Regions from separate parts of the Homo sapiens genome. Here all the other regions are linked to region 2. Evidence: promoter capture Hi-C in human tissues and cell types (Jung and others, 2019). All regions are on one chromosome and are shown on one strand. Each heading gives the region's core, a stretch centred on a gene start or on the middle of the fragment in contact. The rest is flanking DNA. Distances are from core to core; before and after follow the strand shown.

What was found. The method cuts DNA at HindIII sites, captures the fragments that hold promoters and counts their contacts. A contact is called where the count stands out against the background at its distance.
Region 1: a fragment that was not itself captured here is called in contact with the fragment with the promoter of FJX1 in region 2 in 1 of the 25 tissues and cell types used here (dorsolateral prefrontal cortex).
Region 3: a contact is called between a fragment that was not itself captured here and the fragment with the promoter of FJX1 in region 2, in 1 of the 25 tissues and cell types used here (spleen).
Region 4: a fragment that was not itself captured here is called in contact with the fragment with the promoter of FJX1 in region 2 in 1 of the 25 tissues and cell types used here (spleen).
Region 5: a contact is called between a fragment that was not itself captured here and the fragment with the promoter of FJX1 in region 2, in 1 of the 25 tissues and cell types used here (hippocampus).

The regions. Positions count from the first base shown.
Region 1 is chr11:36,037,063-36,041,609 of GRCh38, forward strand. All of the region lies in intron 2 of LDLRAD3 (low density lipoprotein receptor class A domain containing 3), which reads left to right. Among named protein-coding and RNA genes, the nearest start is that of MIR3973, 29 kb to the left of the region's middle. RefSeq lists an enhancer at 1,609-2,116. The HindIII fragment of the contact is 5,673 bases long and covers 1-4,547 here.
Region 2 is chr11:35,615,172-35,619,709 of GRCh38, forward strand. It overlaps FJX1 (four-jointed box kinase 1), which reads left to right and starts at 3,289. Exons shown (of 1, transcript NM_014344.4): 1 at 3,289-4,538. The coding sequence starts at 3,466. RefSeq lists silencers at 2,877-2,966, 2,997-3,326, 3,148-3,309, 3,407-3,476, 3,497-3,756 and 1 more and enhancers at 3,609-4,243, 4,244-4,538. The HindIII fragment of the contact is 11,931 bases long and covers 1-4,538 here.
Region 3 is chr11:35,927,397-35,931,923 of GRCh38, forward strand. No RefSeq gene overlaps it. Among named protein-coding and RNA genes, the nearest start is that of LDLRAD3, 14 kb to the right of the region's middle. The HindIII fragment of the contact is 6,604 bases long and covers 1-4,527 here.
Region 4 is chr11:36,098,165-36,102,188 of GRCh38, forward strand. It overlaps LDLRAD3 (low density lipoprotein receptor class A domain containing 3), which reads left to right. Exons shown (of 6, transcript NM_174902.4): 4 at 163-297. Among named protein-coding and RNA genes, the nearest start is that of MIR3973, 90 kb to the left of the region's middle. RefSeq lists an enhancer at 3,617-3,786. The HindIII fragment of the contact is 6,988 bases long and covers 1-4,024 here.
Region 5 is chr11:35,904,537-35,909,105 of GRCh38, forward strand. No RefSeq gene overlaps it. Among named protein-coding and RNA genes, the nearest start is that of LDLRAD3, 37 kb to the right of the region's middle. The HindIII fragment of the contact is 5,735 bases long and covers 1-4,171 here.

The DNA of each region.
Region 1 (4,547 bases), core at 1,188-3,687, 420 kb after region 2:
GGTGCCCTGTGTGGTTGTCCTCCTGGGTGCCCTGGTAGGTAGGAAGCATGACTGACAAGTGGTGGGCACAGGGTTGTCTCACAGGGGATTGCCTTGAGACCACATGACTGGACGATGGTTCCTGGCTCTTTCATGTGCTTTGGGCACCAGGCCACGTGGCCTGTCTGACAGGAGAACTATGTGTCCTGGCTCTGAGCCTGCTGTCTCCCTGGAAGCCAGCTGAGGAAATAGCTGAAGACAGGTTAATCATTTGAACTTTTTTTTTTCCCTGAAACGGAGTCTTGCTCTGTCACCCGGGGCTGGAGTGCAGTGGTGTGATCCCGGCTCACTGCAACCCCCACCTCCCGGGTTCAAGCGATTCTCCTGCCTCAGCCTTCTGAGTAGCTGGAGTACAGGCACCCACCACCGTGCCCAACTAATTTTTGTATTTTTATTAGAGACGGGGTTTTACCATGTTGGCCAGGCTGGTCTCAAACTACTGACCTCATGATCCGCCCACCTCAGCCTCCCAAAGTGCTGGGATTACAGGCATGAGCCACTGTGCCCAGTCAGTCATTTGAATTTTTAACATATTTCTGACCAGAATTTGGGGCCGAGTCTGTTGACGCATGGGAACGGGCACTGGCTTTGGAGTTCACACACCTCTGGAGCAAGCTGCCCCCTCTGAAACTGGTCCTTCGCCCATCCAAGGGGTCCCATATCCCCAGTGCCTGCTCCTGCCCTTCAGAGAAGTTTTTGGGATGGGAAAATTGGGGGTGTGTTATTTGGGGAGAATATTTCATACTGCTTGTTGCATATGATCTTTCTGAATTGATCACTATACACACTGAATTTTTATTTTTGCAGAATTGTTTGTTTGTTTATTGTTTTCCAGCCCAGGCTGGAATGCAATGGCATGATCACAGCTCACTGCAGCCTCGACCTCCTGGACTCAAGTGATCCTCCCACTTTGATCCCCCTAGTAGCTGGGACCACAGGAGTGCGCCGTCACGCCTGGCTAATGTATTTTTATTTTTTGTAGAAACAGAGTTTCACCACGTTGCCCAGGTTGCTCTTGAACCCCTGAGCTCAATAATCCATCTACCTCCGCCTTCCAACGTGCTGGGATTACAGATTACAGATGTGAGCCACCAAGCCCGGCCTGCAGAATTATTTTTTAAAAGTATTATTATGTCTATTTTAGCTTTTCTCTGTTTCTAACATGGCCTCAGAATTACTAGAGCTATAACATTAGTAATCTGAGCAAATGACATAGTATGGGTGAGCTCTGTCATCTGTCTGGTTTTGAGGATTTATTAAACACTGTACAAGTGTGCCAAGTTACCATTTTTGAGATATGGTGTATATTTCAACTTCGGCACATACGGATTATCGTTAGCTGACCTGGGAATGTTTGGCACATGATCAGTTTCTGAAAGAACGCAGGATTAAGGAGTTGATTCCTAAATTGTATGCCCAGCTTTGTCAATAGCAGCTGTGTGATATTAGTGCATTCTATGGCATTCTGTGTCCTGTCACTCCAGTCTCATGATTTTAGAATTCATGCTCAAACTGGAAGACATGGTGGAGAGCAAATGTTTTTAAAAAAGATGTTGCCGGCAGCTGCCTGGAGCTGCTTGGTTTGGTTTGGAACAGGCTCATTCTTGGCTATTCTCCATTATTTTTTTCCCCTGACTTCCTACCCTTAACCCCCAAGTGTGGTGGAGGTTTGAGTGGCATTTATTTAGTCCTTTGAGCAAAACATAATTAAAAAACCATGCGCCCCAAACATACATTAACCTCTCTCTGTAGCCCTTCTTTTTTTGTCTTTAAATCGTGAAAACAGAACATTAGAAAGTTTAGACAGTAGAGGGAAGGAGAAAAAGTCCCTTTTCTAAAACAAATTCTACTTTCATTTAAAATTTCTTTCTTTTTTTTTTTTTTTTAGACGGAGTCTTGCCTCTGTCACCCAGGCTGGAATGCAGTGGCGTGATCTCGGCTCACTGTAAGCTCCGCCTCCCGGGTTCACGCCATTCTCTCGCCTCAGTCTCCCGAGTAGCTGGGACTACAGGCGCCCGCCACTACGCCCGGCTACTTTTTTGTATTTTTAGTAGAGACGGGGTTTCACCGTGTTAGCCAGGATGGTCTGGATCTCCTGACCTCGTGACCCGCCCGCCTCGGCCTCCCAAAGTGCTGGGATTACAGGCGTGAGCCACCGCGCCCGGCCTAAAATTTCTTATATATTCCCTTTCAGCCTAGGAGTGAGGGTGTGAGCCCTTGAGAAGGCCGATTTGTGTCAAAATCAGAGCCCTTCTTCCCCCTTAGGGGGCTGTGTGATCGTGGGAAACTTACCAGAATGTTCTAAACTTTAGCCTTTGGGAGGTTTAAAGAGAATTCTTTAACCTCCTGGTGCCTCAATTTCCTCCTCTCCAAAATGGGGGTAATAAGGCTTCTGATACTTAACAGTGTTGTGAAATTTTAACCTGTATGAAGCACGCAGCACAGTGCCTGTATACAGTAAGTGGCTTGTAAACATTAACTGCTATTGGTTAAATCTGTATCAACTATTTTATTTGGTCGTTGTCATGGGGAAATACGGTTCAATTATCTGCTTTTTTCTACTTAACATTAGAGGCCCTTGGCCACATTCTATATTGAGGATTCACAGTTGTTTTGGGAGGCTGCCTAATGCTCTGTCAAGTAGTGACACTGTAACTTAACCATCCCTCTATGTTTCAGTCTCTTCTGTTTCAGTCTCTTCTGCACTTTTACTTCTGCTGGTCAAAATGTTTAGGATCATTTAAAGAACTTATGCATAACCAGACGACAGAAATATACAATGGTTTCAGCCAGAGTCAGGGTGGACAGGGCTGAGGTCTCCAGGGTGACCAACTTGACCACCTTTTCAAGGATGATGGAAACGGCTGATGTGGAATTTCTGCCGCCTTCCCGGAGGGAGGGAGACTGGTTCTGTGTCTTGCTTATGAGCTACAAAGCCCTTTCTCTGATTCTTTGGAGCAACTGGGTACTTAAGGGGAGGTGAGTGAAGGTGGCAGTGTTCTCGCCTCGGAGAGGTGATTACTTCAAGTGCCCTGTGGAGCTTTGGCATTGGAAAGATAATACGCTTCTTAAAAAAGAATTCTTGCCCTTTTCGAAGGGCAAGAAAGAGCCTGGAGAGGTGTGTCATGGTGGGATATGAGGCAGTGAGCAGCTCTTCTGTATCCACAGCAGAGGAAGGATTTTTACCAGACAGGAAGATTTTTTTTTTTTAATCGTGACGGTAATAAGATCACATATTGTAAAAATTGAGGGCAGAGAAGGAGGAAAAGCATCTGTACTCAGATCCACTATTGGCATCCTGGAAGTTCTCATTCAGGCTTTTCCCCAGTGTAATCGCCAGGGGTGTACAGTTTTATATTTTGACATTTTCTCATGTAACATTTCAACCTGTTAACAGTTTTTCTGTATCTCCCCCCATTTTTCTCTTTATCATTTTTAGTGCCATTAACTTGCTATAATATGGTTTATTTACACATAATTTGGCATTTCTCTTCTTTCCAGTTTTCCACTATGGGAAACAGTGCTCACTTGTGAACAGGAGGGTGGACATGACTTTCCCTCTGTTTTGAGAAATTTGCTTAGGCTAAATTCTCAGAATTAAAATTACTGGGTTGGAGGGAAGGCGCCTTTTCTGGCTCTTGACACCGACTGCCGACTTGTTTTGCTAAAGGTTTGCACCAGTTTGTTGGCAACATGTGAAAACTATGACTTTATTTTAGTCTTGGCAGCCCTGGGTAACATCTTTAAAAAATATTTTTCTGGTTAATTTAATAATTGAAAAGTTACTTTTTTTAATTAAAAAAAATTATCTAGCTAGATTGAGTGTTTTCCCTTACCTCTAGTTACTAGTTTTATTTCTTTGTGAGATACCTATTGATGGACTAATATTAATTTCCAGCTGAGTTAAGACATTAGATTTTCTGCCTCTTGAATCTGTAGAAGAGGGTCATTTTGGGACACTTTGAGTATATTTCTGTTCTTGGTTAGTGGAGTGCCCTCAGTGATAGTTTTATCCAAATAACTTAAAAATAAAATAAAAGGAATAAAGATAATGTTTTACAAAAACGAGGAAGCTCCATGGAAGTCCTGATTATGAGGAGAGCTTATTAGAGCTTCCTCTAGGCCACACTATCCCAGGCATTTTACATTCTATTGATTCATTTGATTATTGCGGAAGCCTTATTAGTAACCGGCTGGTGTCATCTCCAGATGAGGAAATTGAGCAGTAGAGCGATTACATGGAGCTTGCCTGTTGGCCCAGAAAATAAGTCTCCATAACCTTCCTCCATCAGAGACCCCCAGTGGGGGCTTTCAGTCTTTTTCTCTAGGTATCTGTTACCCTGCTGAAATGGAATCTTACTGCTATCATGACATATTATCATGTCAAACCTGCTTTTTAAAAAGATTCTAAAAACGTCAATAATGGTTTCTTATAGAAATGAATATTTACATGGCCGTTAGTCCTGGGAGTCTCTGAAATGTTTTCCTTGAAGAGACTGTCCTTTGAT
Region 2 (4,538 bases), core at 2,039-4,538:
GCCTCCTCCCCTGCTTCCAACCCTCAACTCCACCTCCTCTCTTTCCCCCAGGAGGCACCATTACATGAACCAGATCATTCTTCAAACAGGACTGTGGAAAAGTTTGAAGATATTGGAAGTTCAGGCTCAGGGATAAATTCTAAGGAGTATTAAGAAAGTCATAAAAGTGCAAATGGATTTCTCATCCCCAAGCAACTGCCAGAGGGCAGAAGTGACTGAGGTGATTAACTATGCTACCCCACAGAGCCAAAGTGGTTTGGCCACAGGTGGCAGGGGAGTGTCCTCAGTCCAGAAAATAAAGGAGAATGGGAGTATTTTCATCTAACAGCTAAACAGAGGCATGTTTTTAAACCCTGTCTCAAATAATCAAATACCATTCCAAAACTGCATTCCACTTTGAGGAAGGGGCAGTGTTTGTTCCTTTGGTTTTCTGTATTTCTGCATTTCAATTAATTTGTTAAAGTTTAACAAATTAATGCATCCTGTTCTGGTACATGATGCATTCAGTCCTATGGCTATAGGCAAAGGGCTGCTCAATGATAAAATTAGTCCATCTTATGAGGTGTACGATCTTAGTCAATTTATTTAAGTCTGGGTTTTTTTCATCAGTACCAGCAATATGGTTAGGAGATTCCAGGATTTCTAGTCTCTGGATTTGAAGCCAGCCCTCCCAGAATTAAAATCATGTGCTTCCCCTCACATCTATCATGCAAAACCCTCACCAATATTTTTTCTTTTTCAAATGAGTGGAAGTTCTTATTTTGTATTCTTTAATCAGCTGAACAATAACTCACAACCGTTGGACAAAATTGTTTTGCATTATTTAGTAGTAAGGTATTTAATTTAAAAAAACTTGATACATGCTACTTGCATCTCATTAGCATTCTAACGATGTATTCAGCAAATTGTTGTTGAACACACACTAAGTGCCAGGCATTGTGCCCAGGCAGCCATAAAACAATGGACAAGACAGACTCCCCAGGAAGTTTACAATGGTAGTTACTTACAGCTTTTGTTAGCAGCCAAAAAGACAGAGACCCCAACTACTTTGGATTTCTCCATATCCCCTAGGACATAGCTTGGTACACAGTAGACATTTAATAGTCTTCCGAATTTAACTTCAACAATTAATCATCCAGTTAAAAATGTCTACTTTTCTCCAATTAGATGATACTCTACTTATGCCCACTAGGTGGCGATCTTGCTTATAGTTTGCCCACGCTGAAAGAGGCTGCCTTTCAAATAAATACATATATATCCCAGTAGAAGTTAAACCAAAAGACAAAAAAATTAAATTTATTGAGTGCTTATTTAGTGTAATATACTATGTTAGGTGGTATAAGAAATAAAAAAATAAGACATAGTCCCTGCCTGCTAGGGAAAGATGAGGAGGGGCTTACATAGGCCAAAAAAATAAGACCTTTGAATGGATTAATATATTTCGATGCAACCATATGGGAGCCATAGTAATCTCATTATCAGATAAGAGTTATAAAATGGCATGGTATAGCCACCATGTGGTTGGGAACAGATTCAACAGTTCATCCAGTATGTACTTAACCACACCAGTGAAAACACTTGACTGTATCCTGGGTCAGTGCTGCAATACTCCAAATGTGGTTTTTTGATGCCTCTGCTCAGCCATAAACATAAGAGTGTCTGCTTTATCACCCTGGAACGCTCTATCACCCTAGAACGTTTTTTCTTTGGAGAATAAAACATAATCAGTGCCAACTGATGAGGTAGTCCAGTTGAAAACCCCCATGTGCACCTGATGGGAAGATGAAAGGAGAGAAAAGATACACACCATGTAAGGAAACAGATTTCAAACTCTGGCCTTTGAGAGGTGGATTCCACCATGCCCCTGATCTTGTGTCTACCCTGGGAATCTCAGTGTGGATCTGGGACTCATTCTGATACAGAGAGGTAAGGGAGGGCCGACTGGCATCCAAGTTTTCCTGGTAAATGTAACCCAGAGGTGGCTGGAAGATGTGTTGGGGTGAAGAGGTTGTTCATTTTGTTTTCTTTGCTCCTTCACCACCTCCCTCCCCCACCACCACCACCATTTCTTTTTCCCTTAAATCGTAAAAGCAGTAAATCAAATGCAGTATGGGATTGAGGTTTTTTTCCTTTCCATTTGAAAAATCCTTTTAATTGAAAAATCACATTTGGGGAACAAAGTGGTCAAATGACAGTGAATTTCAAACTTGAGAATGCTGACTTGATTAAAAAAAAAATACTGATCTTTCTTAATGGAGGGAAAATCAAGTGCATGCGGCCAGGAGACCTGAGTTTGACTTTTAGCTTCGCCCCTTGCTAATTGTGCAATCCTGAGCAACACCCATCCCTTCTCTGTGCCTCAGTTTCCTCATGGACAAAACGGTATCATTTCTTTCGAAAAGTCGTCCCTGACTCCCCTCTCCCCAACACGAGGTTGGATGGCTATAATCTCTCTTAGCAACCTGAGAGTCCCACTGGAATGTAAATTTCAGCAGCACTGGGACCCGGATCTGTGGATTTTGCTTCTGGTAAGCAGAACCAGAACTGAGGGGCAGTCGCTGTGTTGAATGGATGCATGAATGAATGGGAGATGGCCTAGGTGTTCAAGGGGCACGTGCACAGCGAGGCTTCATTCCCTGGGAGTCCGTTGGGAAAGGCAGAGCGGCCAATACTGATTGGTGCTGATGTGCGAGCTCGGAAAAGGGAGTGTCGGTTCAAAGTTGTTGGCTACAGCGGGTTCCTCTTTCCGCTGGAATCACATCCTCTGTGGCTCGGAGACATTCCCAGAGATTTACATAAAGCAGCGTGAATCACCCAGACAGAAACTGAGAAAGCAAAGGGACCCTGCCTGATCCTAGCCTGGCGGAGCTCGGAAAGAGGTGGAAATCTGTCTGAAGTTTGCAGGAGACCCGCGCTGCCTAGGCAAAGGGACCCGGCGACCAAGACACCCCCGCGAGGGCCCAGGGCGCGTCCCTCCCGCCAGGCCCCAGACTCCGGCTCTGCGCCACCCCCTCCTACGCCCCGGCGCGGGCGCAGCCAGTCCGGCTTCCTCCAGGCCCCCAAGTCCCGGACCGAGTGTGGGGCCGCCTCTCCCTCTCGGAAGGAGCCATCGCCGCTTTAAGTGGAAGAGGAGAGGAAGGGGGCGGGGGAGCGGGGGGCGGGGAGCGGAGGCGGAGGAGGGGGAGGGGGATCCCCCTGGCTCCCACGTGGTCCGGGCGCCTGTGAATCGCGCCCACCGGAGGGTCTCACAGCGAAATACAAAAGCAGCTGGGAAGCGGCGGGGACTCGAGTTCCCAGCGCCGGGCGGAGCGCCGGACAGAGCCCCGCAGCGCCCCGCGGCCGCGATGGGGCCGAAGCGCCCGAAGCCCCGGAGCCCACAAACTGCCGGGCCCGCCTCGCCGCCGGGACCCGGGTGCCTGGGCTCGGCTTGAAGCGGCGGCGGCGCACCGGCACAGCCGCGGGAGCATGGGCAGGAGGATGCGGGGCGCCGCCGCCACCGCGGGGCTCTGGCTGCTGGCGCTGGGCTCGCTGCTGGCGCTGTGGGGAGGGCTCCTGCCGCCGCGGACCGAGCTGCCCGCCTCCCGGCCGCCCGAAGACCGACTCCCACGGCGCCCGGCCCGGAGCGGCGGCCCCGCGCCCGCGCCTCGCTTCCCTCTGCCCCCGCCCCTGGCGTGGGACGCCCGCGGCGGCTCCCTGAAAACTTTCCGGGCGCTGCTCACCCTGGCGGCCGGCGCGGACGGCCCGCCCCGGCAGTCCCGGAGCGAGCCCAGGTGGCACGTGTCAGCCAGGCAGCCCCGGCCGGAGGAGAGCGCCGCGGTGCACGGGGGCGTCTTCTGGAGCCGCGGCCTGGAGGAGCAGGTGCCCCCGGGCTTTTCGGAGGCCCAGGCGGCGGCGTGGCTGGAGGCGGCTCGCGGCGCCCGGATGGTGGCCCTGGAGCGCGGGGGTTGCGGGCGCAGCTCCAACCGACTGGCCCGTTTTGCCGACGGCACCCGCGCCTGCGTGCGCTACGGCATCAACCCGGAGCAGATTCAGGGCGAGGCCCTGTCTTACTATCTGGCGCGCCTGCTGGGCCTCCAGCGCCACGTGCCGCCGCTGGCACTGGCTCGGGTGGAGGCTCGGGGCGCGCAGTGGGCGCAGGTGCAGGAGGAGCTGCGCGCTGCGCACTGGACCGAGGGCAGCGTGGTGAGCCTGACACGCTGGCTGCCCAACCTCACGGACGTGGTGGTGCCCGCGCCCTGGCGCTCGGAGGACGGCCGTCTGCGCCCCCTCCGGGATGCCGGGGGTGAGCTGGCCAACCTCAGCCAGGCGGAGCTGGTGGACCTAGTACAATGGACCGACTTAATCCTTTTCGACTACCTGACGGCCAACTTCGACCGGCTCGTAAGCAACCTCTTCAGCCTGCAGTGGGACCCGCGCGTCATGCAGCGTGCCACCAGCAACCTGCACCGCGGTCCGGGCGGGGCGCTGGTCTTTCTGGACAATGAGGCGGGCTTGGTGCACGGCTACCGGGTAGCAGGCATGTGGGACAAGTATAACGA
Region 3 (4,527 bases), core at 680-3,179, 310 kb after region 2:
AGCAGATCGCTCTCTCTGCCAGCTTAGCTTCACGTGGCAATTTGGGATTTTTTTTTTTCTTTAAGATTTTATAACGCCGAGAGTAAAATGGGAATGTTTTCATAAATGCTTAAGCATCTTTAGTGAAGCTAATTTATAGAATTTAAATGTTCCTCTCCGGCAGTTTTAAACTCAAATTTCTCAGCGGTGGTTGGGGGGTTGGGGCCAAGAAACAGGAAACTGCTCTGTTTCACTGTTCATACTCAACAATAAAAAATTAAACGGCCTAAAAAGTGCAAGCTAGAGAGAATTTTTTTCAGACGTACCCTCCTCTGAATTGGAGTGATGGTGATAAAGGCAAAAATGGGATTCTTCTCTTTTCCGGGTCCCCCGGCCCTCCTTGGCAGGGGCCTGGCGGCCACACCTTAAATTTCTGGGGTGACTCAGCCCCTGTGGCACAGTGCTAGGCATGACACCCAGCACCTTACTCAAGTCACCTTTGCCAGCGGCTTGCCTCCCAGCCCCTCCCTTGGGAGCATGCTTTGGCAATGGCGTGACTGGGTGATGAAGAACCTAAACTGGATTGTGCAACCTTGCGAGGTTGTGTAACCACCACGGCTGCACTTATTGCACAGTCGGCTAGAGAGCTTAGCGCACAGCCAGAGTCTGCAGTGAGGTTCCCATGGTAAGATTTTTTTGGGAGCCACTTTCTGCTTCTATTTTACATCCCGTCCTTGTTTTAGCACCTGTTTTTGTTGCCAGAAGATGAGATGGCATGAAGTCTGTCTTCCTCTCTCTTCTTATATGGAACCAGGTGGTGTATACATAAGTAGATATTTAATATATCAAAAGGGGAGGCCTTTCTCCTCACTTCTCGTTTATGGCTTTGGGAGTTCAAAAGCCTCCTTTTTTCTCTCAGCCCTAACCAAACACAAAAGATACTCAATTTTCTCTCTGGATGTGCTGATTCAGCTTTTTTTTTTTTTTTTTTTTTTTAACTGTGCATAGTGGACACCCTCCTAGCCTTCAGCTCAAGAGATTGCGGACTGTATAATAATAGAAGTAATATGGCCGGACTCGGTGGTTCACGCCTGTAATCCCAGCACTTTGGGAGGCCGAGGTGGGCAGATCACGAGGTCAGGAGATTGAGATCATCCTGGCTATCACGGTGAAACCCCGTCTCTACTAAAAAAATACAAAACCATTAGCCGGGCATGGTGGCGGGCGCCTGTAGTCCCAGCTACTCAGGAGGCTGAAGCAGGAGAATCACTCAAACCCAGGAGGCGGAGGTTGCAGTGAGCTTAGATCGTGCCACTGCACTCCAGCCTGGGCGACAGAGTGAGGCTCCACCTCAAAAAATAATAATAATAATAATAGAAGTAATAATGGAAGTAATATAACAGCTAACATTTAATAAGTGCTTATGCTGTGCCCAGTGCCATATAATAGATACCTATCCCTTAATTCTCACAATCCTGAGATAAGTGTTATAATCATCTTCCCATTTTACTGGTGAGAAAACTGAGGCTCAGAAAGATTCTGTAATTTATCCAAGGCCACACTGTTTGTAAGTGGCATGACAAGGCGAGCACCCTGGTCCATGTCATGCGTATCTCACGTGTCTCGCTGAGCAGAAGCTCAGCTTTCCAGATTGCCTATGGTGGAAAGGAAAGACATTCCTTAGGCTAGCCTCTAGGCTAACAAGGTTTATCTCATTACATTAAATAACCGTATACTTGAAAATCATTCTTAGTCCAGGATAAGGTAGGCTACACTGCAGCAATCAACCCAAAGTATTAGTGGCTTAGCATAGCAAAGGTTTATTGCGGACTCTTGCAAAATCTAATGTGAAAGTCCAGGCTGGATGGAAGGGCATGTGTTGATGTTTCAGCTGATGGTCCCAGCTGAGTCCAGCCTCAGAGTTGTCCCGTCCCAGACCCCAGGCATATGAGGGAAGAAGTTTCCAGGCAATTTCTTTTTCTTTATTTTTTTTCTTTTGAGATGGAGTTTCACTCTTGTTGCCCAGGCTGGAGTGCAGTGGTGTGATTTCAGCTCACTGCAACCTCCACCTCCTGGGTTCAAGTGATTCTCCTGCTTCAGTCTCCCGAGTAGCTGGCATTACAGGCGTGCGCCACCATGCCTGGCTAATTTTTTGTATTTTTAGCAGAGACGGGGTTTCATCATGTTGGCCAGGTTGGTCTTGAACTCCTGACCTCAGATAATCCACCTGCTTCGGCCTCCCAGAGTGCTGGGATTACATGCATGAGCCACCGCACCCAGCCTTTCCAGGCTATTTTTGCTTCTAACATTTCAAGTCACCTGCAGCTATTCATGTTGTTATGGGCTGTTTGTGTACCCCCAAAATGCATATGTCAGACCCCTAATCCCCAAAATGATAGTATTTGGAGATGGGACCTTTAAGAGGTGATTAGGGTTAGATAAGGCCATGACGGGGTGTAGGGGAGACCCGGTTTGATAAAATCAGTGTCTTAATGAGAAGAGACAGCAAAGAGCTCCTTCCTCTCTCTCAACTGTATGAGGACAGAGTAAGAAGGGGGCCCCCTGTAAGCCAGAAGGAGAGCCCTCGCCAGAAACCAAATGGGCTGCCACCTTGATCATGAACTTCCCAGGAGCCAGAACAGTAAGAAAATAAATTTCTGTTGTTTAAGCCACCCATTCTATGACAGCCATAGTTAGGGCAGCCAGGCCAGGCCAGGCATGGTGGCTCACACCTGTAATCTCAGCACTTTGGGAGCCTGAGGTGAAAGGATCACATCAACCCAGGATTTCAAGGCAGCCCAGGCAACAGAGTGGGACACCCACCTATACAGAATATAATAATAATAATTAGCCGGGTGTTGTGGCACACACCTGTAGTCCCATCTACTCGGAAGGCTGAGGCAGGGGGATCACTGGGGATCACTTGAGGCCGGGAGGTCAAGGCTTCAGTGAGCCATGATAGTGCCACTCACTGTACTCTAGCCTGGGTGACAAGAGTGAGACCCTGTCTTAAATAAAATATGTAAATCAATAAGTCAATAACAACATAGTTATGGCAGCAAAAGCAGAGTAATACACACATTTTTTTCCCAGCTGAGGCTCCAGATATCATGGAATTAGACAAGACATCCCACTTTGTCCTGTTGGAACTCCTGGCCCACAGAATGCATGAGCCTATTACAATGGTTGCTGTTTTGAGGATGGTTATTTATGAAACCACAGATAACCTACACACACAATAGATTTGCACACACCACAGGCTATAACTTTCATTCATTCAACAAATATTTACTGAACACATATTAGGAGCCAGACACTATTCTGAGCATGTATCAGTGAACAGAACAGGTAAAGACCTGTCCTCCTACTGCTTATATTGTGTAGGGATAAAAATTGCTGTTTTTAAAAATAATCATTTTAAGTATATTTTTCTAGTTACAAAAGTAACACTTGCTCATTCAATGCATTTGAGAAATACAAAAAGATACTTTGAAAACGCACAAAAAATAATCATTATGCAGAAATAATGCATTGCTAATATTATTTTATTATCTGACAATCACAGGCACACATAGATGAACAAACATACTCTTTAAACTGGAGTCACACTTTATATTCAGTTTTATATCCTGTTTTTATTTTTATTTTTATTTTTTTTATTTTTTTTTTTGAGACGGTGTCTCGCTCTGTCACCCAGGCTGGAGTGCAGTGGCGCAATCTCGGCTCACTGCAAGCTCCGCCTCCCGGGTTCACGCCATTCTCCTGCCTCAGCCTCCCGAGTAGCTGGAACTACAGGCGCCCGCCACTACGCCCGGCTAATTTTTTTTTTTTTTTGTATTTTTAGTAGAGACGGGGTTTCACCGTGGTCTCGATCTCCTGACCTCATGATCCACCCGCCTCGGCCTCCCAAAGTGCTGGGATTACAGGCGTGAGCCACCGCACCCGGCCTTTATATCCTGTTTTTATTTCACTTAGTTATTGCAGACCTTTTCTCATGTCATTGAAATATGATTTTTAATGGTTGCATATTGTTCCAGCCTGTAGCAATACGAATTATTTAACCATCCTGCAATTATTTTACATTTCAGTTGATTCCAATTTTGCACTGTGATAAGCAACGTCTTGAAGAACAACTTCGTACATGAATCTTCGGCTGCATCTCTGATTAGTTCCTTAGAATATAATCAGAGAAGTGGGATTACTGGTTCAAAGGATATGCAAATATTCAAGCTCTTCATAAATATTGTCAGATTACTTTCCAGAATGTTAGCTCCAATTTACATTCTCACCTGTATTTTATAAGATGCCTCTCTGGTATTCTTGCCAATATTCAGTATTAGAGTGTTCGTAATCTTTGCCAATTTGTTGCATTAAAGAATGGTATTTCATTTTAAGACTGGTTGACTGCCTAGGTCGCTCAATAATTATTGGGATTTGCCTAAATCTGAGTATTTAAACCCTAGCTCTGGCGCCTTCTAAGAAAATACATAACCTCTCTAAGCCTCAGGTTTCTTTGTCTACCAAATGGTAACATTTATCCTGACTTCT
Region 4 (4,024 bases), core at 1,076-3,575, 480 kb after region 2:
GGTTTGGCTGGCCAGCCTTACAGCATGGGCTTTGAGTCTGCCAGCTTAGAAGATAAGCTTACTGCTTCCTGAGCGGGACACACGCCAGGCTGGAAGAAGTTCCAGGGTCCCCAAGGGAACTTGCTGGCCTCCCTGGTAATGTGCTGTGTTTTCCCTCTGCAGCAGCAAACCCTCTGCTTTGCTCCACCGCCCGCTACCACTGCAAGAACGGCCTCTGTATTGACAAGAGCTTCATCTGCGATGGACAGAATAACTGTCAAGACAACAGTGATGAGGAAAGCTGTGAAAGTTCTCAAGGTAGGAACCTCTCAAGCTCTAAAAAGATAATTGCAACACAACACTGCAGTAATGGAACACCCTGAAAGGCAGAAAGCAACACCCATTCCCATTCCAAACACAATAGCTCTGTTAGTTTTTGCACTCAGCCTTGCAGCCCTTGTACAGGTAGGTACCCGTGTTTACGTGGCTTTAACTACAACACACCTACCATTTTGAATTTTGTATTGTTCCTGAATTAAATATCATCTATACATTTCTCTTCAAAACTGTAATATGCCCCAACTGTGTTACATACTGTCATGTTACTCTCCTGTGGTTTTCTGAGACAACGCTTTATTGGGGCAATCCAGGTTGTTTCTTTCCCTTGAATTACTTCTTTGGGATAAAGTCTGCAGAGTGGGATGTCTGCACAGGTGTCTGTTACACCTCAGCATGCAGCTGTGTTTTTTTTTCTTTTTTAAGTTTACATTGCTGACATCATTGTCTGTGCCTGTCAGTTTTACTGTGCTATCACAGACATTCACAGGCATCACAACTGCTGCCCTATTTTTTTTTTCCCATTTTTGCTAATTTGGTAGTCATAGAATAACAACCTCCCCAAATGCTTTCATTTGCATTTCTCTGATTATGAGCAGAGTTCACATTTTTTCCCGTCATGTTTGTTTACTGCTTTGTTTCCTTTTCTGTGAATTGCCTCCTTGTGTCTGGGCTATTGATTTTGGGGCTGTCTCATGGAAGCTGAGGGATGCAGCTGGAGGATGGGAAGATGAGCTTTGTTAGGGAGTCTGAGGAGGACACAATGGGATAAGGTCATGTCCTCCCTAGTTAAAACTGACCGGGTACATTTCTTTACTCATGGACTCTTTTTTTTAGCATTTCTTCAGTGATTAGAAATACTAAGATTTAAAATGCACATCTGTTTTAAGGCATCCGAAAGAATATATATTTCTAATGTTATAAATTGGTATCATCTGTATGTAATCTTTCCTATTTTCACTTAGTATTATATTGCTGTGATTCACCTGTATTGTTTGTTGTTGGAGATTGTTTGTCTTGACTTATGTTCAGTGTTCTACTGTATGATTGTACCATAGTTTATAGATCTAATAAAAGTGTGAAAAGAAAAGTAAGAGAATGATGGTTAACTGCTTAGCTGGTTAACTCATATATTGGGAGGTAGGATAGATGATGGATAAGTTCCATGTAGTTAGATGTAGGTTATTTTCAAGGTCCTAGCTTTTATTTTGATTGGTGTTTATGCTATTAAAAATGAACGAGTGAATGAACAGATGGTCATACATAACAACTGGTGAGAGTGGGCTACAAACCAAGGATTATGGTCAATCTAAATCTATATGCCTGAGGTCCATAGGAAAGAAAAGACAAAATGTGTATTGGCATAGACTTTGCCAAGATTTGTGCAGAGAACAGCTGTGGGAGGCGAGTCTTGGATAGAATTAGCTTCTGATTGTCTTTGCCTGGAAAATGCCTTTCTTGGGTCGACTCTTCACAGTGGTTCTCAAAGTATAATCCTCAGTCCGGGAGCATCAGCATCACATGAGAACTCCGAAAATGCAGTTGTTCAGGCGCCATTCTAGACCAGCTAAATCAACTGGTGTCGGTGGGCCCAGCCAGAAATGCAGTTGTTCAGGCCCCGTTCTAGATCAGCTAAATCAACTGGCGGGAGTGGGCCCAGCCATCGGCGTTTTACTTAAGAAGCCCTCAAGGTGATTCTAATGCACACTGAAGGCTGAGCTCCACCATTCTACAGTCACCTGAGAGAGGTTTATAATCCTGCCATTTGCCTAGAAATTTCCAAACTTCTGACTGAACGCAACGTATTGCTGGCCTTTACACAAGATCAAATTTTTATAAAACCAAACATGCCAATGTCTTGCCAGTGATGGACACCAAATAGGGAACAAGAATGCAAAATCAAGTAAGTATTAGCATAGATAGGAAGGATTGAGGAACATTTTCTATGGCGATTGTTTCTTTTTTTGGGGGGATGGCATGGACGGAGTCTTGCTCTGTCACCCAGGCTGAAGTGCAGTGGCGTGATCTTGGCTCAGTGCAACCTCTGCCTCCCGGGTTCAAGCGATTCTCCTGCCTCAGCCTCCCAAGTAGCTGGGACTACAGGCGTGTGCCACCACGCCCAGCTAATTTTTGTATTTTTAGTAGAGATGGGTTTCACCATGTTGGCCAGGATGGTCTTGATCTCTTGACCTTGTGATCTGCCTGCCTCAGCCTCCCCAAGTGCCGGGATTTACAGGCGTGAGCCACTGCGCCCGGCCTATACAGTTTCTTAAGTGTGTATGTATCCTGGACTCACTTACTCATGGTGCCCTAAGACGTTCAGTGAAAAGACTCCCACGTCTAAGATGTGGAGGTTAGGCCTGTCAATAGTTTGGGCAACACCCTCTTCTGTGCCCATCCCAGTATTTTACTGAAGCAGATTTTTGCTTGCCCTTAAGAAGAATGGTGGGTCCCTCTGTAGGCTGTTTAAAGCTCCTATTTTTTTAAATTCTGCTTTTTCTCTCTCACCATATTCCACGTCCCATAAATATGAGGTTTATGGAGAAAGTTAGTGGTGGACACATACATATGAAGCCCAACTCTTGACACATACTTTCCTTAGAATCTCAGCTTTGTGCCTTCCTTAGCCAGAGGGCATCCCCTTAGAAAATAAGCTACATATGCACGTGCTCCCAGAAAATAAGGCCCACCAGGCAGTTGCTGACACCTGTCAGTTTCATGGGTATAACAGCCACCCCACAAGGTGCCCACTTGTGGAAGGCATTGCTGTGAGCTACCCAAGAAGAGTAACAAGAACAGGACCTGTGCCCGTTTTGCCTCTCAAATCCTGCCGAACCTACGTGGTGGCATTGTGCTCTGTACATAGTGGATTTGCTAAGTGCTGAAGACTAGAAAAGACTTCTTGGTAGAGTGTTGTTATTAATGCTGTGTTTTAATTTGCACCCTGTGTGATATTGCACCGTATAGGTTTTTAAGTTATGTGAGTTCAGATATCCACGATTTATTAAAATAATAACAAGTATTATTATTGTTGTTTAAATTGGGTAGAGAATTCCGTCATTTCCTCAGTGGGAATCTGCCCTGCAGTGAGTGTGAGATGGGAGACAGATCTGGAGTTCCCTTAGCTGTCTGCAATTCTGCAGCCTCATCCTTCGTAGGGTGTACACATCTCCCTGCCCTGAGTGAGACTCTGGTATTAAGGGTGTGTTTTCTTGCATCATGTAACCTCTATGTCCAAACCGACTAACTCATTTTGGTGCTTGACCAAAGGAACCCCAGCACATCAGTGCTGTGGGAAAACTGACCCACACTGAGCTCTATGCAGTATTTTCCTGAAGAATCTCAGAGATAGTTTGACTAGACAAAATATTGCCCTATGCCACATAGGATTTGACCCACTGTCATCTTTTTTTTTTTTTTTTTTTTGAGACGGAGTCTCACTCTTGTTGCCCAGGCTGGAGTGCAGTGGCACAATCTCGGCTCACTGCAAGCTCCGCCTCCCAGGTTCACGCCATTCTCCTGCCTCAGCCTCCCGAGTAGCTGGAACTACAGGCGCCCGCCACTACGCCTGGCTTATTTTTTGTATTTTTAGTAGCGACGGGGTTTCACCGTCTTAGCCAGGATGGTCTTGATCTCCTGACCTCGTGATCCACCCGCCTCGGCCTCCCAAAGTTCTGGGATTACAGGCGTGAGCCACCGCACCCGGCCG
Region 5 (4,569 bases), core at 54-2,553, 290 kb after region 2:
TCTGGTTAAGTAATATGTTACTATTAGGGAATGCTAGGTAAAAAGTATACAGGAACTCTCTGTATTATTTTTTTAAGTCTAAAATGATTTTATCGTACAAAGTTTTTTAAAAATTAACAACTTCTATTTATTAAAAGATTCTATGAGAATGTAAAAAGGCAATCCACAGAGTGCAAGACAGTATTTGCAATACATATATTCAACAAAGAACTCATTTCCATAATATATAAAGAAGTCTTTAATATTAATAAGAAATATATATAACACTCAACAGAAAAAGGATGAAAACTGTTCTAAGCACTTCACAGAGGAGGATCTCCAAATGCCAATAAACATAAAAGGTATGCAATCTTATTATTCATCAGGAATATGCAAAATAAGACCAACAAGATGCTGCCACCCACTTAACAGAATTGCTATCATTAAAAGACCAATAATACCAAGTGCTGGCAAGTATTTGAACTGATACAGGACTTTCATACCTTCTTGGCAGAAATATAAATTGGGACAACCTACAAACAGTGAATATATACATACCCTCTTCCCCATTAATTCTGCCTCTAGGTACATATAACTAAGAAAAATGTGGACATATATTCACCAAAAGACACATACAAAAATGTGATAGCAGTACTACTTGTAATAGCCCCAAATTTGCAAATCAAATGGCCATCAACATAAATTGTAGTGTAGTCATCCAATGGAATGATATGCAGTAGTAAAAATGAAACTACCATTATCCATCACAACACGATTGAATCATACAACTGTAATGTCGAGCAAAAGAGGAAAAATTTAGCTTGATGATAGAAGTCAGAATAGTGGTTACCTTTGGGAACAGGCAGGCAGCGACAGTGAGGGGACATGAGGGGACAATTGTTACACAGCTGTGCTCACTTTGTGAAAATGCATTGAACTATACACACATCTGCATATGTGATACTTACAAAAAGGTTTAATTTTTAAAATCCTTTGGAAGGCAAAGAATAGGGAGAGAAATAGAAGTGTTTTCATGAAAATATTAAAAATTCCTTTTGTTTTGAAGAAAACTATTGTTCTGTGTAATACACTTCTCCATATGGGCGAAGAAAAGCGTCCGGATAGCCCTCTTCAATGTAGGTATGATGTAAAAGCCAAGACTTCTGTGTGCTAAAACAGTAGCAACAACATAAACAAATATCAAAAGGAAGCAGACAGAAAAATTAGAGAAGAAAGTAACCATACACATCTGGAGAACCAAAAGCAAACAAACAAACAAAAAAATTCCAAGATATCAAATTGGAGAAGTGAAAATACAGTATATGTTTTATAAGACAATCAAACTGCCATGCCCATGGTGATTTCAGGAAGCTGTCTTCTCAGAGTGAAAGCCAGGGGTTACTTTGTGGGGTAAGGATAAAGAACAAAAAGATACACTGCATAATGAAAGGGCATCAGAATGAATAGAAGATAATTCCCTTGGACATGAGATGCAATGAAGTCAAGACCCATATTTTATCTCTGCTGGAGGCAGTCTTATTTGTTAGTAAAGTGCTAGGATAATAAACCATTGTTCTCCTTGCCAAGAACGTCAAAACAAATACAAGCTTCTTTGCTCAGTGCTAAAAATGTCTGAGCCTTTGGAGAACAGCTGGGCAGAAAGCGATCTTGTTCAATTTCAGCACATTTTTTCCCAAGTATTAGGCTGTCCGAACTCAGCCCACATCAAATCATCCCAGGCACCCAGTGCTGGGACAGACCTGTCATGAAAACACAGCCTATCAAACTTGAGCGAGTGGAACGCACAATAAAACCACTTTAAACTTGTCCAACTCTCTGTCTGAAGGAGCAAGGACTTTGAAGCACAAAAAAGCTACTTTAAACAGATAATTCCTTTGAGGTGCTTTTTTCATAAATATAAAAAAAAATGTTGCTGTGCTTGCAAAATTCTGTATATTGATAAGGCTCTGGGAGCATTAGAAATGATTTATGATCTCCTGGCTACCAATATCACTGTTGCCTAAGGGACAGCTTCTCCTAAGAATTTGCAAAATTGTTCTCCATGCTATCAAGTCAGCTCTCATTAAAGTATGTCTCATTTGTGGCTTGTGATTTGTATTAATTTGGAGGTATGTCATTTAGGATGTTTGGGGATTCAAGTAACTAAAAATTAAAAATGAATTCAACTGGCTTAAACAATAAGAACACTTCTTTTATCAAATAACAAGAATCCCAGAAGTAAAGTAGTCCAAGGTGGGTTAACCCAGTGACTCAAATGATGTCATCAAGGACCCAAGTTCTTTCTATCTTTCAGTTCTTCCATTCTCATGCTAAGTCCCCTCATGGGCCTAAGGTGGCTGCCACAGTCCCGCGCATCACAGCCAGATCTAAAAGTATCTAAAAGAAGAAGGAGTGTTCCTATGAGTTTCTTTTCATCACTGAGAATAAAAAAATCTTTGCAAAAGGCCTATCAGCAGACTGTCTATCGAGTTTTAGTGGCTAGAATTGTATCACATGCTTATGTCTAAGCCACTAACTAGACAGCAAATAGGATCACAATGCACCTATTAGACTAATTTACATCTAAACACAGGGATGGGGGTTATCTATGACTGATAAGATGATGGAGCAGACACCCAAGTAAATGTGTGGTACGGTCAACTTAGAAGAAAAGAGAATAGGCTGTTAGGTAGGCAAGCATCTGTGTCTGCTATAATTGACATGAAAGGTAAAATAAGTTTGGTCTAATTGAATTTTTTGGCTTAACTATGGTATGTATATATTTAAAAAAACCTTCTTACTTTCATTTTTTAATAGGCAGAATGTTGTTCTGCTGCCCAGACTGGGGTTCAGTAGTGTGATAATAGCTCACTGCAACCTTGAACTCCTTCAAGAGATCCTCCTGCCTCAGCCTCCTGAGTAGCTGGGACTTCAGGCATGCACCACCATGCCTGGCTAATTTGTTTTTATTTTTATTTTTGTAGAACGGGGTCTCATTATGTTGCCCAGGCTGGTCTCAAACTCCTGGGCTCAAGTGATCCTCCCACCTCAGCCTCCCAAAGTGTTGCAATTACAAGTGTGAGCCACCATGCTAAGCCAAAACCCTTTTAGATTCTGGCTCTGGCTGTTAAAAATTATTCTATATTAGTTCACTTCCCCCCTACTACTTAAACTGGAATGACACCTTTGGTGTGTCTATACCTAATGACACTCACCTTTCCCCACCCTTTGAAACTCCTCTTTTATTTCCATCCTCAGGATCTTAGGAGTAAGCCTCCTTCACCTGTGTTTGTGCAATGCTGTCTTCCTAGCCACAGATGATTGGAGCTGAGGTGTACAGCGGAACTTAGCTAAACCAATCAGCTTCTTTCTCTGAGAATTTCAAATTGGGGGAAACTCTGGTTGCATCAGTCTCTTCATGCGCTTGGATCTATAACATAACCTCTAGAATTGTGGGGCAGCAATTTTTCTGCCATTTGGGACAAGAAGCAAAAACTAGTGTAAGGGAAAGTAAAAATGAAAAAGATATACAGTGAGTAGTTTCTACAAGTTTTGGCTCCATAAGGCACTTTGAACTACCCCTTCACCACACACAGGCACGTGTACACACACACCTCAAAATGCATATGCAAGCCAGCTTGAGGCAGCTTATGTTACTTGCAACCAAACAGTCCTAACCAAAAAGGAACACAGTGTCCCTTTTCAGAGATGATTGAGGATCTTGCAGAATGCTAGGGTCATCCTGAAGAACTGCCAGTTCTCATTTCCTTTGTGCATAGAAAACTGAAGACAATGAGTCATACCTGTCATAAATTCACCCCAGACCTTGCTACAGACGTTGCCTTTGTTTGATTTAAATCTTCACTATTGGTTTGGTTTCTAATACTTTTTACTCTTTTTTCTAAAAGTATTCAACAAAACACTCAACAGTAACAACAACAAATAACTGTGTATTATGTGAATGGGAGGTGTTATGTTGTGTCTTGGAGAGGCAGGGAATGGGACTAATATCTATTGAGTTCCAACAATTTGCTTTGCATGTATTGTTTACTTTTATCCTTATCACACACTACCTACTAGTAATAACAAAACGAGGCCATGCCTGGTGGCTCATGCCTGTAATCCCAGCGCTTTGGGAGGCCGAGGTGGGTGGATCACTTGAGATCAGGAGTTTGAGACCAGCCTGGCCAACATGGTGAAACCCGGTCTCTACAAAAAATAAAAAATTAGCTGGGCGTGGTGGTGGGAACCTATAATCCTAGCTTCTTGGGAGGCTGTGGCAGGAGAATCACTTGAACCCGGGAGGTGGAGGTTCCAGTAAGCCGAGATCGTGCCACTGCACTCCAGCCTGGGAAACATAGTGTGACTCCATCTCAAAAAAAAATATGTGTGTATATGTGTGTGTGTGTGTGTGTGTGTGTGTGTGTATTTATAACAAAACCATTTTACTAGTGTGGAAGCTGAGTCTCAGAGAAGTACATTGATTTTGTTAAAGTCACACAGCTAGAAAGCCATGGAAGATTTTAAGCCCAGGCTCCAGAGAATCAAAGTTGATGATGTTTTCACTATTCCACGTTGTTAAACAGAAAA